Linked DNA regions of Homo sapiens: all the other regions are linked to region 1. The links are contacts of gene promoters, found by promoter capture Hi-C in blood cells and fetal thymus (Javierre and others, 2016). All regions are on one chromosome and are shown on one strand. Each heading gives the region's core, a stretch centred on a gene start or on the middle of the fragment in contact. The rest is flanking DNA. Distances are from core to core; before and after follow the strand shown.

Evidence for each region. Contacts are between HindIII fragments. The CHiCAGO score rates a contact against its expected background, and 5 or more counts as called.
Region 2: a contact is called between a fragment that was not itself captured here and the fragment with the promoter of PRDM1 in region 1, in 3 of 17 cell types (activated CD4 T cells, non-activated CD4 T cells and M0 macrophages). The highest score is 6.1, in activated CD4 T cells.
Region 3: a contact is called between a fragment that was not itself captured here and the fragment with the promoter of PRDM1 in region 1, in 14 of 17 cell types (M2 macrophages, activated CD4 T cells, monocytes and 11 more). The highest score is 18.5, in M2 macrophages.

The regions. Positions count from the first base shown.
Region 1 is chr6:106,084,444-106,088,201 of GRCh38, forward strand. PRDM1 (PR/SET domain 1) reads left to right here and starts at 1,893. Exons shown (of 7, transcript NM_001198.4): 1 at 1,893-2,152; 2 at 3,758. The coding sequence starts at 2,111. RefSeq lists enhancers at 274-343, 1,521-2,240. The HindIII fragment of the contact is 5,820 bases long and covers 1-3,758 here.
Region 2 is chr6:106,443,594-106,447,351 of GRCh38, forward strand. The region is part of intron 1 of CRYBG1 (crystallin beta-gamma domain containing 1); the gene reads left to right. Among named protein-coding and RNA genes, the nearest start is that of CRYBG1, 85 kb to the left of the region's middle. The HindIII fragment of the contact is 2,737 bases long and covers 461-3,197 here.
Region 3 is chr6:105,750,265-105,754,022 of GRCh38, forward strand. No RefSeq gene overlaps it. Among named protein-coding and RNA genes, the nearest start is that of LINC02836, 120 kb to the left of the region's middle. The HindIII fragment of the contact is 3,770 bases long and covers 1-3,495 here.

The sequences.
Region 1 (3,758 bases), core at 643-3,142:
TATTTGGCTTAAAATAGCCTTCTTCCCACCTCAAATATCAAACTTTTTGCCTATTCCCTTACTCTATCATGGTTGACTCACCAGCAGTTGCATGATGGTGTATGTGGCCTAAGAACAGAGTTTGATTCTAAAAGGGAAGTGAAATACTCTTTAACATCTGCAAGTGAGACTGTTTGAACAGCAGGCCAGCCTTCAGTATGACTACATTGTTTTTCTGTCCATTGTGGTGCTGACTCAGCATCAGTTAATAAACCCTCTTGAGCAGGCTGGATTTCTCTTGTTTAATTATCAGCTTGGAGCTTTCTGAGGACTCTTAGGAATTGTTCATTCAGTTTTCCACCCCCAGCAGATCTGCCTTCTAAAAGTCCTGCTTCCTCTTGGTGCTAGCGTCCCCTCTGGCATAACATGCAATCACAGGTGGGCCACGCAGCAAGCAGCGAGTGTGTGCTAATCATGTCCCCTAGTGGGAATTTAATTGTTCTGTACTGAGAGAGAGATTGCAGCAAGACTTTAGACACCATTTCCTGGCAAATAATCTTTTGCCTCTCCCCCTCTCCCCTAAAAAAAATTCTAGAAAAGTTTTCTAAAAGTGAGAAAAGAAATTTTAAAGATAAACAGACATATTTTTTAGGATTGAGTTGGGCTTTTGTTTTGCTTTGTTTCATTTCTTCCTGTAAACAAATACTCAGATGTCCATTTCATTGTATGACTAAGTTGGTATCATTAGGTTGGAACTGGGTGTGTGTATGTGGGTGTGTGTGTGGGTGGATGTGTGTGCACACGTGTATTTAAAATGTTAGAAAAGACATTGCAGGTCGAAGGAGAAATGATTTTAAAAAAACCTACCTATGGTAAGGCAAGCAGGAAAAATGGAAGACCTGGATTTCAATGATCTAAATAATAATTGAAATGGGGTGTTTGCTATAAACATTGTTTCTCTGAATTAAAGGATTCCTTGCTGAAGGCACAAGACCATTGAAGGAAGTAAAGCATCTGGTTTGTTTTGTAATGAGAAGCAGGAATGCAAGGTCCACGCTCTTAATAATAAACAAACAGGACATTGTATGCCATCATCACAGGATGTCCTTCCTTCAACAGAGGACTGACTGGGCTGGAGGAAAAGCTGGCCGGGGCTCAGAATAAGCCCCACTAATTACTGCCTCCGACCGCTTTCCACTTGCAGTGATCAGTTCAATATTCCTCTGAACTGTGAAACGACTAATGCTCTACATTTTACTTACACTCCTGGGAAGTCAGCCTGTGGGTTCTGGGAGGAGAGGAAAGGAAAACAAACAATCTGTAGAATTATAACTTTTGCCTATTTCCCTATTTACTAAATAGTTAAAAGAGGAAAGTTAGTTCTGCCAAGTTTGAACGTTAGCAGGAGAAACGGAATGTTACAACTTTTGGGGCGGGGGGCGGGGAAACGTGCGTTACATACACAACAGCTTGAGGACCAGACAGCTCCACTGTATTACACTAGCTGCAAAAACAATTTAACTTGCTCTTTTGAAGTAAGATTTGTGTCTTTTGTACCTGGGGATTTGAGCTGAGAAATCAGAAACTGTGTAGGTAAATTTTAAGTTTCCTTAATTTAAGGAACGTGCGCCCCCTAATTCTGCCGCGCCAGGAAGGAGGGCGATCTGGAGTGTTTAGAATACAATAGAGCCCAAGTAAGCGTTGAGGTTAAGTGCCTTCAAAGGGAAGTAAGAAGATTCCAAGTCAATGTTGAAATACACATGCGAAGAGAGGAAGCTCTCGGCGGCTGTGCTAGCAATCTGGGGGAAAGCCCTGGGCTCGGCCAGGTGGTGTTGGCCACGTTGGCCACGCCCCCACTTCGCGCAGCCGAGTGGCTAAGGAAATCTTAAGCAGGGAGGGGAAGCCAGACGGTTAACACAGACAAAGTGCTGCCGTGACACTCGGCCCTCCAGTGTTGCGGAGAGGCAAGAGCAGCGACCGCGGCACCTGTCCGCCCGGAGCTGGGACGCGGGCGCCCGGGCGGCCGGACGAAGCGAGGAGGGACCGCCGAGGTGCGCGTCTGTGCGGCTCAGCCTGGCGGGGGACGCGGGGAGAATGTGGACTGGGTAGAGATGAACGAGACTTTTCTCAGATGTTGGATATTTGCTTGGAAAAACGTGTGGGTACGACCTTGGTAAGGAACTTGAATTTTTTTTTTTTAATTCTGAAATTGATCTGAAAACTTTATTTTCTTTTCCTTTATTGTTATTATTATTAATTTTTTTTGGCTAATGTCGCAGTAGAAACATGCTTCTGCTTTAGTGCACTTAGTGCTGTCAAACATTTGTGAGACTTTCCTTATGAATCATTAACCCTTTCAGTTCTAGACATAATTGCCAATTCATTGAAATTTCAGTAGTGGTTCCAGCTCACACTCGTCAAACTATTCCGGGTTGGCTGAAGTTTTCTATTTTATTTTATTTTTAACATGTGTTTGGCGTCATGACTCTACATGTTGGAACTAAATAAAAATAAGCAGGTTTGCTTAAATCATAACTGAGGGAAAAACAACTTTGCATCCAACTTTTTTTTTTTTAAGAGCATCCTATTTAGAGAAGTGGAAGAATGTAAAAACCTCCTTGAAGGACTTCCACAGAATGTTATGTTTACATTTGAACAAACACACATTCTTACATGGAAATGATACCCATATTCCTCATTTTTATCAAACATGTCTATATGAGAAAACCCTTACAGAAGTTGTTTACCTTTTTTTGCCTTTGGAAAACAGTTTTTTTCTGAGTGTGAGGGAGGATTTTGGGGGAATATCCTCATCAATGTACAAGTGGAAGCAGAGCTTGTCCTCCAAGTCTTCTAAATTTGTTATAACTTTAGTTACAGTAAACTGTAGTACATCAGTGACTTCTGGGAATTCATACACTTTCAGATTTAAATGGAAAGTGCTATTTGTAGCTGAGGACTCCTAAAGGAATTCTCTCCAGGGAATTTTATTAAACGGTTTTATGTTTTGTTTTTGCCTTTTCAATTTGGTATGAGATGCTTGCAAGTCAGAAGACACTGCAGGCTGTTTTCCCCTTCACCCATTTTTCCTCCTCTTTTCCTGTGGTCCAAGTGATTTCTAAGAGGCCGTAGCTCAGTGATGCTGGCAGGATGCAACCCTTTTCAGTCTTCCATGTGAGAGGATGAAAGAGAGCTCGCAGCAGAGGGAGGAGGCAGTTGTTTTGAAAGTTGTTTTGCGTTGGGAGCTGGTGGGAAAGTTCGGTCTTCCCCATTTGGAAAAGGCAGGCTGGGTTCCGCTCCTGCACCACACGCGCTTTCCATTTTTAGCTTCATTCAGAGGCAGACAGAGCTCCTTCCTCTTCCTCTCCTTGTTTGTGACACTTTTCTGAGGCAGCTTTTCCACAGTGCCGAGGGTCTGGCGGCCATGACCCCAGGCATTCTGGGACACTGGACTGTGTGCCCAGAACATTTTTCTGCCATGAGAGGTAAAGCCAGGGATTGTTCAGAGGTGATTCTTTTTTTTTTTTTCCTTTTCCCCACAGTGAGGTTGCCACATTCTTTTTTTTTTTTTTTTTTTTAACTAAGAGTAGCATTTAAAAACCTTGCTTCTTTTCAAGGCAGTTTACTTTATACGGCTTCTTGGCTCTTTCTCAACTGTACCAAGCACTCTGCATCTGCTTTTAAAGTCTTCAGACTACTGTATTAGTCATAGCCTCTCAGAAGGAGCCACAGGAACGGCGGGACAATGGGGATTAAAGGCCTTTCCTTTCTCTTCCAGG
Region 2 (3,758 bases), core at 579-3,078, 360 kb after region 1:
TTGATGAGTGATCAGAGGTGGATTGATTGGAGCAGGAGGGCTCAAAGATGACTCCTCAGAGTTGCCCCTGGTACTTTAGGACTATTTCTCTACCCTTGTGCCTATAACCACATAATTTTTTTTTCATTTTTAGTTTTTGTGGGTACATAGTAAGTGTATATATTTATAGAATACATGAGATATTTTGATACAGGCATATAATGTGTAATAATTGCATCAGGGTAAATGGGGTATCTTTCACCTCAAGCATTTATCCTTCCTTTGTGTTACAAACAATCCAATTATTTTCTTTTAGTTATTTTTTAATGTACAATAAAGTAGTGTTGACTGTAGTCACCCTGTTGTGCTATGAAATACTAGATCTTATTCATTCTATCTAACTGTATTTTTGTATCCATTAATATAACCATATTCTGCCAGGCTTTTTCCTCCTTGCCTGCTCCATGGTAATATCACCAGAAGCTTTGTTTGGTGCTACAAAGGCTAACAATTGAAAATACCCTCTTTTGCATTATTAATTTGTTATTCATGAGCTTAGTAAGATCATTAGTCTTTCTTTGGGGAGTATTGACACTGTCAAAATAAAAGCTACATTTTCTCTTCTCTGCCATTAGATGATAAGAATTTGAATTGCCTTAAAAGGAAAATTCCAGCAATCAAAAAAATCTTCTTTTGTATTTCGACAACTGAAAACAAAACTTGTCCAACTTGACTCTTATAAAGAGAAGCTGAAAAAAATGCCATGACCTTCAGCTTCTCTAAATCAGAGCATGTGCAATCACGCGTGAAACACAATACTCTTGATAAAACCGAGCCGTTCCTTGAGGCACAGACCTCGGTTCCTCAGTTCTCCTGGGGATTTGCACAATTCTCCTGGTTGTTTGGTCCTCGGCCTTGGCTTCTCTTTGCTTGTGCCCAGAATGAAATCATTTCTTCCTCTGGGACCAATGCTAATAAAGCCAAACCTTGTGGAACCTAGCCTGGTTCTGGGCGAGTTTCATGGTTCGTTAATCATGTGGAGTGATCCGAAATCATCAAAATCAACATACTAGTGGTCCTGAGATATTTTGCTTAACTTTCACAGACTCGGTAGCACCCAAAGCCTCGATTTCACAAGATAGAAGTATTAAGGCAAACATTTCCAGCCTTTGTTGGAGAGATGATTTGCATTCCACTGGTCAGGTGTGAGGGGGAACTTAAACATTTCTGCACCACACAGCATATTGGGAGATGGCTCCCAGCCTTCAGGCTGCCATTTTGAAAGACTTGGTGGCTCACACCTGTAATCCTGGCACTTTGGGAGGCTGAGGCAAGACAATCATTTGAGACCAGGAGTTCAAAACCAGCTTAGGCAACATAGTGAGACCCCGTCTTTACAAAAACCAACAAAACAAACAAACAAACAGACAAACAAAAACCATCAAAGTGCCCAGGAAGGTGAATGCAATCAGGAAGTAGAGGCTGACTGGACAAAAAAGGATGAGTAGAGGAGTGATATTCTTGTGCAACCACTAGATGGCAGAGTTTCTGCATTCTATTACCATTGGCAACAAGAAATACTTGGGTTAGTGGTGTAGCATCCTTTACATACCTGTAACTTTGAGGATGCTTTGTATTTTAAAAACTCGAATGAGCATAGCAAATTATTTTCATTTCCCCATCCAACTTGGAATTTTGTGATCGTGAAACTCATCTACTGAGAATTTAAAATTAGTCTCTGAGTGAGGAGTTGGGTGGGTTCTCTACTCCTAACTCTGTCATTAGCCGTGTGACTTTGAACAATGAATATCTCTGGGCCTCAATGAACTCATCTGAAAAATGGTATGGTTGGGTCACTAGATTATCTCTAAGGGATCTTCCAACCCAGACATTCTCCTTTCATATCTGAGCCTGATAAATATGCTAGCTCAAAGTACCATCTATATAATTCCTTATAAATTATTATTCAGGACATGTCAACTGACATTCATATGCATAATTACAATAGCTGATACTTATTGAGAACCTACTATATGGCAGTACTAGGCTAAGCATTTTACAAGTTTTACCTAATTTAATTCTCTTAACAATTTATCACTCCCATTTTGCAGATGAAGAAACTGAGGCTTAAAGAAGTAACTAGCTCAAGATCATATAGCTAATGGCCAGGCTGGTATGACTCTGAAATCTGTGTGTATACATTGCTATATTTGATCCTTTATTCAGCTGAGAAAAAATACAAATTTGAAGACAACACTGCTTCTGAAGGAAAAACCCATTCTGTAAATCCAAAATTCTAGGTTTTCCAAGGGAAATAGATTGTGGGGTTTTGTTTTATTTCTGGAGATGGGAGAGATTTACATGGCTCTATCCTCACACTGTCATTAGATGCCTCTTTGTGAGCCTGGGCTTCCAGTACCATGTACATGGGTAACCAGCAGGCACAACACTGTCAGTCAGTCACATGGTTTCTGAGGAACAATGTCTCTTCAAATCTGCAATAAAGTGACTGAACCAGGTAATCACCAGGGACTTTTTCAGGTCTAGCATTATCTGATGGTATGTGTCCGTAATCTAATACAGGGTCTAATGTTAGCAGGAAAGAGGTTGCTCAGTAAATGGTTGCTCTCTACCATTTAGCAGTTGCAGTAAAGAAACACCATGCACACTATTAGTGCCATTTGTTAGTGAATTAAGTTTTCTCCTTCCTTTGTGGCCAGAAAACTTATGCATGTTACAACCAATGCCTTAATTCAGAAGAGTGGTTCTAGTATCTGGTGTCTTAGGTTCCCTTGAGGAAATAATTCAATTCAATGCAGGTGGAAGCACTTTTTGGTAACTTTGAAATCACAACTCTGAGGCTCAGTTGAACACAGTAATAATTCTTTGGATAGACAATAGATGGCAGTACAGCATCAATTTATAACTTATAAACTATAGTTAAACCTAAACTTTTATGCTACATTTTATTATTTTGGATGTACATTACTATAAAACAAGAATTATTAAAAAACTTATTTAACTTGCCTTATATTAGGCTACACATATTTAAATGCTTAAGGAACAACTTGGTGGTGTAGACCAACATTAGGAAAACTCGAACTAGATTTATCAGGGCCACTTTCAAGGGCTTTGGAGAGGCCCTAGCACTGTCAATCTTGAGAAAGTAAGAGATTCTCTTTTCTTTTTATTAAAGAGGCCCGCCCCCTTCTTATATAAGCTTTAGGTCTCACAATTCTGGGATTTGTCTGAGAATAGCCATGCGGCTCTTTTAACTTGGGAAAGGGAAAACAGTCTTGCCGTTATTAATTTTGCTACCAACTTAATCTCCAGGGAGAGGGGCAATCTGGTTTTTTAAAGTAAGCCAAATAAAAAGGAAACATAATTGAATGAATTGGCAAATGTTCCACTTACTTCTAAGTCTGAGTAAAATCAAGTACCATACTTAACACTGAAACTTTCACTCTGGCAGTATAACATCTGTGCTAAAAAGAAAAGGGAGGTACAAAGGAGTATAATTAGCAAGTTAATAAATTATCCTCTGCTAAGACTGCAGACCAATATGATAGCATTTGGCGGTTGTTTTATGTTATTTACCCAAGAGGTTATTGTCGTTAATAAATGACCAGTTGTGACTATTCACAAAGGAAACTGTGCTTCCATTGGCACATAAATTTCTCATCAGGGAGCCAAGCTTAGCCTCTGTTATGACCACCTACACCCTACTCATCAGGAGTAAAACTAAAATTAACCCTTTGGGTACAAAAATAATAGAAAGA
Region 3 (3,758 bases), core at 361-2,860, 330 kb before region 1:
TGCCCACTGAGTCAGGACTACCCAGCCCAGGGGAGGAACCTGCTCTGGTCTTCAAAGCTGAGCTCTTTGTTTTACTGTCACATGGTGTCTCCCAGTGACAGGGAGGCTGCAAGAGCACGAGTCCCTGGGGCTGCTATAACAAAGAGCTGCAAACTGTGGGGCTTAAACAACAAACATTTATCATCTCATGGTTCTGGACTTTGGTTGGAAGTCCAAAATGAAGGCATCAGCAGGATTGATTCTTTCTGCAGGCTGTGAGGAAAGATCCAGCCCATGCTTCCCTTCTGATTTCTGGAGGCTTCCGGTGTTCCTTGGCTTTAGGTGGCCTTTTCCCTGTGTCTTCACATCATATTCCCTATGCGTCTGTCTCCAAATTTCCCCTTCTTACAAGGACACAGGTCATACTGGATTACAACCCACCCTAATAACCTCATTTTAATTGGATCACCTCTGTAAAGATAATATTTCCAATAAGGTCATGTTCACAGGTACCATGCGTTAGGACTTACACATCTTTGGGGGGGACACCAAAACACTGTTGATGTTTAACCATGTCACTGCAGTTTTCAGATGCAAAATGATGAGAGTGTCACATATGCCTTCTGTTGCAATTACTTAGCCTGCCCATTGTGGACAATCCATAAACAAATGGGTGTGGCGGTGTTCCAACAAAACTTTACTTATGAATATTGACACTTGAATTTTATATTATTTCACTTGTGATGAAATATTCTTTTGGTTTTTCTAAACCATGTAAAACTATCGAAACCATTCTTAGCTTGCACACTGTATAAAATGATCAAAGGGCTTGATTGGGTCCTAGAACTGCAGTTTGCCAATTCCTGTAAGAAAGGATTCTTTAACTGAGAAAAAAATTGATCCTCATCAGATTTCTCCCATTTAACTGAGATAATTTCTTTATATTAGTTTCCAGCAACCCCACCTCCCTGCAATAATTTATAAATGTTCTCTTATTCATATGGTGCATGTACTTTACTCCTAAATCGAGTTTGTGCTCTGTAAATAACTTCTCACAAGAAGCTCAGGAAAGAGCTTGAATGTAGGAAGGCAAGACACCTTACTTCTTTATTCTACAGTATCTCCCGACATCCAAAGCAATGTTTGTTGTAGCAAACATTGTGTATGCAAATTGAATCCTTTTTTAATTTTTGATTTTTGCAAGTACATAGTAGGTGTATGTATTTATGGGGTATATGGGATATTTTGATACAGGCATACAATGTGTAATAATCACTTTGGGGTAAATGAGGTATCCATCACCTTAAGCATTTATCCTTTGTGTCACAAACAATCCAATTATACTCTTAGTTATTTTTAAATGTACAATTAAATTATTACTGACTATAGTCACCCTATTGTGCTATCAATTACTAGATCTTATTCATTCTTTTAAACCATTTTTTTGTATCCACTAACCATCCCCGCTTCCCTGCCACCCCTCCCCACTATCCTCTGGTAACCATCCTTCTATTCTTTATCTCCATGATTTCAACAGTTTTAATTTTTAGCTCCTACAAATAAGTATATGCAAAGTTTGTCTTTCTGTGCTTGGATTATTTCACTTAACATAATGATTTCCAGCTCCATCCATGTTGTTGCAAATGACAGAATCTCATTCCTTTTTATGGTTGAGTAGTACTCCATTGTGTGTCTGCACCACACTTCCTTTATCCATTTGTCTGTTGATGGACACTTGAGTTGTTTCTAAATCTTGGCTATTAGCTGGGTGCGGTGGCTCACGCCTGTAATCCCAGCACTTTGGGAGGCCGAGGTGCGTGGATCACGAGGTCAACAGATCGCGACCATCCTGGCCAACATGGTGAAACCCTGTCTCTACTAAAAATACAAAAATTAGCTGGGCATGGTGGTGCGCGCCTGTACTCCCAGCTACTCAGGAGGCTGAGGCAGGAGAATTGCTTGAATCCGGGGAGGTGGAGGTTACAGTGAGCTGCATTTCAGGTTGGGCAACTGGTGTAACAGAGGTTACACCACTGCATTCTAGCCTGGGCAACAGAGCGAGACTCCATCTCAAAAATAAATAAATAAATAAATAAATAAATCTTGACTATTGTGAACAGTGCTGCAATAAACATGGGAACAAATCAAATATTTAAACACCCTCATATGGGGTCTTCTCAAACTGTACCCATCATTCTGGCCTAATTCCAGCCTGCCATCCTCCATGAAGCCTCCTCCAGCTATTCCAGCTCATCCTGACATTGGCTTCTCTTTTCCTGTTGAATTCATAATCCATGACATGTAACTGACCACTTAACCCTTGATGAATTCTCACATTAGTTTTGACTTTTCAGCTACAAAACCAAAACCACTCCAAGAAAGGAACTGGTGACATCCTTTTATTGTTGTGTTTTCTCTCCTTTGAAAACTAGTTAACTCTTACATTACAGTAGGCACACTCCAAGGCTGTTTCCCGACGCACAGGCCAGGCTGCTCCCTGGAACTCCTTTAGGGGTTAGGCTGGGCCCATCCACCTACCTCTCTGACCCGAGCCTTTTGCCAAGGCCTAAGCACACTGAAGCAGCAGTGGCTGCCATCCATGTAGGCGCTGAAATTCTAGAGCTCAAAGAAGGGAACTGGTGCCTAACACTCTAGCCATGGCTGGACACCAGGAATCAGTACCTGCTTCAAAACTGACAAATTACAGAATAATTAATTACTAACAGATATTCTTAAGCACAAAGTTTTAGTGCACATTGACCATTTCCTAACTTGAACCCTCTCTAAATAGATGAATTTCTCAAGTAAAGGTAAGCAAGGTCAGTGCTTCTGTTGCACTTTGGTCTCCTCTCTTGGCATTTTCTTTTCTTACATGATATTGTAGTAAGTAGTATAAAAACTTGAAAATGAAAAGCCTGATTCTTGATGCATAATAGGAGCCCCACAACAATAACCAATATTTGGAAGTTTGTCAAAGGCAGGTATGAAGCACAAGATGAAACGTTTTCATTTCGGATGACTTATAGTAAGATACCAATAAAATACTCCGAGATGTGGTAAGAATAGGCGATATCACCACACCTTGGGCGGGTGAAGCCACTTGGCACAGGCACCCTACCTCACCACACCCCTGAGGCATGGCAGAACACAAGAGAACCACACCCATTGAGTGTGATGGCTGAGCACAAACCAAACACTTCCAAAGGCGAGGCAGAAAAATCAATACAGGCACCACAGGAGGTGATACCGGAAAATGATGTGATGCTGGCAGGATTTTCACTGCAAGGGAAGATAAGTAAAGAAATAAAAAAGACCCCTTCTCCTTTGCAGATGTAGGGCACGCCTGCCAGAGTTTTATTGTTTTATTGGTGGATGGGGATTCTTGTCTTCTCTGGTCAATTTCTATATGGGACACTTCCTAAGTTACTCGATCCTCTAAACACTATAAGAACTTGGAGACCGAGCTGAAAACTTAATTAGCATTATGCAGACTGTGGGCTTCTGGTATTTCTAGTAAGCTTAGGAAGCTGCCAAACATTCCTGCCAAGTTTCCTTAAGCCTGGAAAGGCCTGCAAATGCTAATCCAAGAAAGCCAGGGAAAGCAACAAATACTAATTTTCTCATAGACTGAAAGGGAAATACTGTGAGACGGGGGCCGGGGGCTTCTTTTTGTGAAGGAACCATCGGGGGCTTCTTTTTGTGAAGGAACCATGAGGGCCTAAGGATGTCAGCTCTAGAGAAAGCCCCAGGTGGGACCAGATGGAGTTTAGAATAGTCTG